Regions from separate parts of the Homo sapiens genome. Here region 1 is linked to region 2. Evidence: promoter capture Hi-C in 16 types of primary human blood cells and fetal thymus (Javierre and others, 2016). All regions are on one chromosome and are shown on one strand. Each heading gives the region's core, a stretch centred on a gene start or on the middle of the fragment in contact. The rest is flanking DNA. Distances are from core to core; before and after follow the strand shown.

What was found. The method cuts DNA at HindIII sites, captures the fragments that hold promoters and counts their contacts. A CHiCAGO score of 5 or more calls a contact.
Region 1: a contact is called between a fragment that was not itself captured here and the fragment with the promoter of ZNF620 in region 2, in 1 of 17 cell types (total B cells). The highest score is 7.4, in total B cells.

What each region holds. Positions count from the first base shown.
Region 1 is chr3:41,225,511-41,229,255 of GRCh38, reverse strand. CTNNB1 (catenin beta 1) reads right to left here. Exons shown (of 15, transcript NM_001904.4): 5 at 3,684-3,745; 6 at 3,395-3,596; 7 at 1,904-2,048. Among named protein-coding and RNA genes, the nearest start is that of CTNNB1, 28 kb to the right of the region's middle. RefSeq lists an enhancer at 3,649-3,745. The HindIII fragment of the contact is 951 bases long and covers 2,020-2,970 here.
Region 2 is chr3:40,504,593-40,508,059 of GRCh38, reverse strand. It overlaps ZNF620 (zinc finger protein 620), which reads right to left and starts at 2,021. Exons shown (of 5, transcript NM_175888.4): 1 at 1,922-2,021; 2 at 1,684-1,756. The coding sequence starts at 1,707. The HindIII fragment of the contact is 1,073 bases long and covers 2,021-3,093 here.

The sequences.
Region 1 (3,745 bases), core at 1,246-3,745, 720 kb before region 2:
TACCAATGGCATTCTTCACATAATTAAAAAAAAACTATTTAAAAATTCATATGAACCCAAAAAAGAGCCTGAATAGCCAAGGCAATCCTAAGCAAAAAGAACAAAACTGGAGGAATCACTTTACCCAACTTCAAGCTATACTGTTAATACAAGGTTACAATCACAGCATGGTACTGGTATACAAACAGACACAGAGACCAATGGAACAGAAAAGAAAGCCCAGAAGTTAGGCCGCACACCTAACAAGTAAACAAAAACAAGCAATGGGGAAAGGACTCCCTATTCAATAAATGGTGCTGGGATAACTGGCTAGCCACATCCAAGATTGAAACTGCACCCCATCCTTACATGATGTACAAAAATCAACTCAGAATGGATTAAAGACTTAAATATAAAACTTAAAACTGTAAAAACTCTGCAAGATAACCTAGGAAATACCATTCTGGACATAAGACCTGGCAAAGATTTCATGACGAAGATGCCAAGAGAAGTTGCAACAAAAACAAAAACTGACAAATGGGACAGTATAAAGAGCTTCTGCGCAGCAAAAGAAATCAACAGAGTAAACAGACAACCTACAGAATGGGAGAAAGTACTGGCATGGGAGAAAGTACTGGCAAACTATGCATCTGACAAAGGTCTAATATCCAGAGTTTACAATAAACTTAAATTAACAAGCAAAAAAGAACAACCCCATTAAAAAGTGGGCAAAGGACATGAACAGACACTTTTCAAAAGAAGACATACAAGTGGCCAAGAAACATATGAAGAAAAGCTCGACATCACTGATCATTAGAGAAATGCAAATCAAAACCACAATGAGATACCGTCTCACACCAGTTAGAATGGCTACTAATAAAAAGTCAAAAAATGACAGATGCTGGTGAGGTTGCTGAGAAAAGAGAATGCTTATACACTGCTGGTGGGAAAGTAAATTAGTTCAGCCATTGTGGAAAGCAATTTGGTGATTTCTCAAAAAACCTGACAGAATTACCATTCAATCCAGCAATCCTATTATTAGGTATATGCCCAAAGAAAAAGAAATCTTTTTACCATAAAGACACATGCATGCATATGTTCACTGCAGCATTATTCACAATAGCAAAGATATGGAATTAACCTAAATGCCCATCAATGGTAGACTAGATAAAGAAAATGTGGTACATATATACTATGGAATACTAAGCAGCCATAAAAAAATACCAAGATGTCTTCCTCAGCAACATGGATGGAGCTGGAGGCCATTATCCTAAGCAAACTAACATAGGAATAGAAAACCAAATACCACATGTTCTCACTTATAAGTGGGAGGTAAACACTGAGTACACACGGGCACAAAGAAGGGAACAACAGACACTGGGGCCTACTTACGGGTGGGAGGTAAAGAACTGAAAAACTACCTATTGGGTACAATACTTACTGCCTGGGTGACAAAATAATCTGCACACGAAACCCCTGTGACATGCAATTTACCTATATAACAAGCCTGCACATTACCCGGAACCTAAAAGTTAAAACAAAACAAAAACTGCTCATGAGCATCTACTAATAAAGCAATCACTTTACATAAAACTGTACTATATTAGAATTTGTCTTTTCTCCTATAAATTCACAGCTCTGTTAGCAAATCTTAGGTTTACTCAAAACTGAAATTACAAACAAATTTTATTAAGCAAAACATATGCCATCATTTTTGATGGATAATAAGAACTCTACCTAAACTAGCCTTAAATATTTAGCTACAATCCAGATGACAGGTACTCTGAATGTAAATCTTGGCTGCAAACTGAATAGGACCATTTATTTTCAGTAGTTAAAGTTCTACCACCTTTTCCTAAGAAAAGTAATCTAATTAGAACTGCAGATGCTATACACAAGACTCAGAATAGATACATATACTTACCAGCTTCTACAATAGCCGGCTTATTACTAGAGCAGACAGATAGCACCTTCAGCACTCTGCTTGTGGTCCACAGTAGTTTTTCGTAAGTATAGGTCCTCATTATATTTACTAAAGCTTGGGGTCCACCACTAGCCAGTATGATGAGCTAGAAAGATATATATATATATCTTGTTAGTCAAGGAATCTTGATCACATGTCTGAGAAGAGCCATATTACCAACCTATTTTATTATACAAGAATTTCAGCCAGCTTGCCATTGGACCTAAATGTATTCCTGGACCCCATCACTCAGACCCCCATACTGGGGCCCTATCCAACTTGTCCTTTTAAAGCATTCCACTCAAATTCAGACATCCCAGTCCTCCAAACAATGTATCAGTTTGGGCCCAATTTCCTTCTTCCCACAGTGATCACACCAAAAGAAAAAAATTTAGAAACTATGTTGGTAGGCAAGAGTAATGCCCTAAGATGAAAGTTATATCAAAACTGATTCACTGAAAATTTGAACCAGAACTGGCACTTAACTCCTCATCATTTGGCCCTTTAATTTTCCTAATTATATCCACCTTAAAAACAGATACCATAAAATGATCATTCATGCTTGTCCTTTCATTCCCTGTATATCTTCCCTTTCAACACTGCCCCAATTTTCTAAAAACAAATTTCATCATTTCAGGCTTCTGCTGAAATTTCCCATTGTGCTTTTAAACATGCTCTACAAAGCCCTATGAGATCTGCTAAGTCTATCTCAATAGCCTCACCTCAAACCTTTCTTCCTCCTTACTATTAGTATTTCTTAAATTCCCAAAACTTTCCATCTCCTTCCTTCGTTTCAAAGATGTTGTTTTCTCACCTAACCTTCACCTAGTGAATCCCTTCTCATCCTTGAACACTGAACTCAACTATCACTTCCTCCAAGAGGTCTCCTTGAACCCTCAAAAAGAGTCAGTTTCAACTTGTGTTATGTGCCCTCATAGCCCCACTTCTTCCCACTACACAAATTAAATATTAGGTTATTATTCCCAACATCTACATCCCACCTAAGAACAAAAGTGTGAAGAGAAGCTTGCCTACCATATCCCTACTACTTCGCATAGTGCTTTACATATGGAAACTCAAAAATTTAAAAGAACAGAAATGAACTGGGCTGCACAGCAGGAGGTAAGTGGCAGGTGAGCGAGCATTACCTGGCTTGAGCTCTACCTCCTGTCAGATCAACTGCACCATGAGAGTCTCATAGGAGTAGAAACCCTAGTGTGGACTGCACATGCGAGGGATCTAGGCTGCACGCTCCCTATGAGAATCTAATGCCTGATTATCTGAGGTGGAATGGTGTCATCCAGAAACCATTCCCACAACCCATTCATGGAAAAACTGTTTTCCACGAAACTGGTCCCTGGTGCCAAAAAGGTTAGGAACACTGCATGGAATGACATGACACTGGAGGTGTCCAATGCTCCATGAAAACCACATAAAGAATAATTCTCTTACCTTGCTTTCTTGGTTGCCATAAGCTAAAATTTGAAGGCAGTCTGTCGTAATAGCCAAGAATTTAACATTTGTTTTGTTGAGCAAGGCAACCATTTTCTGCAGCCCACCAGCTAAACGCACTGCCATTTTAGCTCCTTCTTGATGTAATAAAAGGTTGTGGAGAGTTGTAATGGCATAAAACAACACAGAATCCACTGGTGAACTGGGAAGAAGAAAAAAGCCTCATCAGAAATATTGTGAGTATACTCTTCTACTTTTTAGCTTCAAGCATTCTGACATGTTTTCTTACCCAAGCATTTTCACCAGGGCAGGAATGCCTCCAGACTTAAAGATGGCCAGTAAGCCCTCACG
Region 2 (3,467 bases), core at 772-3,271:
TAAAAGAAGTGACATCACTGCAGGTAATAAAAGATAAGCACATATTATGAACAACTTTATGTGAATAATTTCTACAACTTAGATAAAATGGATAAGTTCCTTGAAAGGCACAAGTTACCAAAACTCATTTAAGCTGGGCGTAGTGATGCATGCCTGTAGTCCCAGGTACCTGGGAGGCTGAGCGGGGAGGATTGCTTGAGCCCAATTTGAGGTCAGCCTGGGCAACATAGAGAAAACCGTTGTCAAAAAATAAAAATAAATAAATAAAAAGAGATAACCAGAGTAGCCCCTGTATCTACCAAAGGACTCAAAACTGTACTTAAAAACCTTATCAGAAAGAAAACCCCATGCCTAGATAGCTTCACTGTTGAATTCTACCAAACATTTAAGGAAGAAATGCAGTCAACTCTACATAAATTCTTCCAAAATATTAAAGAGGAGGGAATATTTCTCATTCTATGGAACAAAGACATCACAAGAAAAGAAAACTGCAAATCAATACCTCATAAACATAGATACAGAAATTCTAAATAAAATTTTAACAAATTAAATTCAATATATAGTACTAATAAAATAATAATACACCATGACGAAGTCGGTTTTATCCCACCGCAGAGTTGGTTTAATATTTGAAAGAAAAATCATGTAATTCACCACATTAACAAAGAGAGGCTGGGCACGGTGGCTCACGCCTGTAATCCCAGCACTTTGGGAAGCCAAGGTGGGGGAATCACGAGGTCAAGGGATCGAGACCATCCTGGCCAACATGGTGAAACCTGGTCTCTACTAAAAATACAAAAATTAGCTGGGTGTGGTGGCGCGTGCTTGTAGTCCCAGCTACTCGGGAGGCTGAGGCAGGAGAATCGCTTGAACCCCAGAGGTGGAGGGTGCAGTGAACCAGGATCGCGCCACTGCACTCCAGCCTGTCGATAGAGCAAGACTCCATCTCAAAAAAAAAAAAAAAAAAAAACCATATGGTCATCTAAATAGACACAGAAAAAGCAATTGTCAAAATCCAACATCCATTCCTATAAAAACTCTCACCAAAGTAGTACTAGAAGAGAATGCCTGATAAAGGACATTTACAAAACAAAACAAAACAAAAAAGCAAGAAACCTACAGTGAACATCAGTCTTCAGTGTGAAAGATTGAATGCTTTCACTTTAAAAGCATAAATAAGACAAAGATATCTGCTCTCACCACTTCTGTTCAATATTGAAATAATGCTTCTAGCCAGTGCAGTAAGGCAAGACAAAATAAAATAAAAGGCATCCAGACTGGAAAGAAAGGAGTAAAACTATCTTTACTCATAGATGACCTATGTAGAAAATACAATGGAATCTACAAAACAGTTACTAGAATTGCTATACTGAAGAAGTAAGTACTTCTCCAAGCCTGCGGACTAGGGTGAAAGGGGTCTTTATTGGATGTAATAATGCAGATTTCCACATTTCATAATTTTTATTTTTAAGCTGGCTTCAAATGCCAAATCCCAACCAATCCCCCCACACTCACTAGTTTTCTAGTCTTAATTTGGGCATTCTCACCTCTCCATCCCTCTCATAGTGACAGATGCACAATGGAAGCCACTGGCCTACACAACTCAAGATCTGAATGCAGAGGTGACACCTGCTCTCTCTTGACATCTAAAGGGTGGGAGGGAGGGAGAGGATGCTCACTCACCTGGCGCCAAGCGGTCTGGAACATGGCTGGCGTCCCAGCTTCACACACTGCCTCAGGGTTCGGAGAAGTGAAACTGAAGAGAAAATAAAGAAGCACCGGTGAGATTGATGCTGCCTCGCACCCCGCAAATGCCCTCTGTGCTACTTGGGCCCCTCTCCTTTCCGCCAACTCCTCACCCCAAAAAGCAAAGGGGTTGCAAAACCAGGCAGAACAAGCCCCAGGAAAACCAATCAGTTACCCGGACCGCGAACCTCTTCAGCTCGGACCGCGAATCCCGCGCGGCGCAGGCGCAGATAAAGCGTGGAAATTCCACCTGCCGCCGACACCGGGGAAAGCTTGAGACCCTCCGCCGGAAGTGCGTTTTCCATGCCCCTCCTCTCTAGGAACCTGGGAAGTTGCCAGTCTCTGTGGTTTCCTACCCCCGCCGTCAGCGCCAGTGTCCCTACTGCCTGAGACAACACGGGCCCGAGCGGGCGGCCCCAGGCAGGGGTCCTGCAGCGCCCACACCTGGTAGCTCCTTCGGGGCATGACGTCTGGCCAGCTCAGGCCACAGAATGGTTACTATCCTGGGTATTATTCGTGGTTATCTGGCATTTGCCACTCTGGGTGTCCTTCCAGATAATGAAGGGACCATCGCGCCCTTCACATGCGCCAAAACTGTCTGGATTGTGTGGGTGCGCTGCAGTGGGAAAAGTGGGTGTGGGGAAAGGCGAACCCATTACTCAGAAGGCCGAATGTGTATGGACTACGTAGGTCCAGAAACCCAGCTGCACCACTTGCTAGTTGTGTGACCTGCAGCAAGTTTCTTTGCCCCGGTTTCCTTGTCTATTAAATGGGTATTATGATGGTGGTACCAACCTCTTGAGGCTGTTCAGGGTTAATTCATTAAATTAGTTAATTGATAGGTAAATTATTTACAGTTGTGCCTGGCACATAGTATGTACTCGTGAGTTTGTATTGTTTTGTTTTCCAATTGTGTTTTTTGAAGACACAAAATAGGTGCTGCTGGGACTCCAATATGTGGCGTGCTTTAGGGAAATAGATTTTTTTAAGGACAATTTTCGAAGTTTAGCGAAAGAGCTATTAACATTTGGCTTAGAGCCCTTTCCTGCCCTGTACTGGGATGTGTGTCCCGGCCCAGCCTGGAAACAGATTTTAGTTATTCCTTCCACAGGAATTAGATTTATCCACCACTTTCAAAACAAGTCCTGCCATGGAGAGTATATTATGTATCTACTGCTGGATAATAAACTACTCTAATGCTTTGTGGCTAAAAACAATAAACATTGTTATCTTTTGACAGTTTCTGTGGACCCAGAATTCAAGAGCAGCTTGGCTGGGTGGTACTGGCTGAGGGTCTCTGCTGAGGTTGCAGTCAGGTGTCATGTGGGGCTGAAGTCATCTGAAGCTTGACTGAGTTTGGAGGATCCACCTCCAAGGTGGTTTACTCACATGGCTGTCAAGTGGGTGCTGGTTGTTGGCAGGAAGCGTCAGTTCCTTCCCATGTGAGGGTTTTCACAACATGGCATGTAGCTTTCTCCCAAAGTGAGCAATCCAAGAGGCCAAGGCCAAAGCTTTTATGACCTAGTTTTGGAAATCATGCATCATGATTTCCTCAATACATTCTCCTCAGATTAGTCATGATTCAGTGTGGGAAGAGATACACAAGGTTTGAATGCCAGGATATGAGAACCATTGGGAGCCATTGTGGGGCCACCTAGCACAGAGATTTTAACTGTCACAGAAACAGTTCATTTTATAAAATCTATAGTATTTTCACTTTA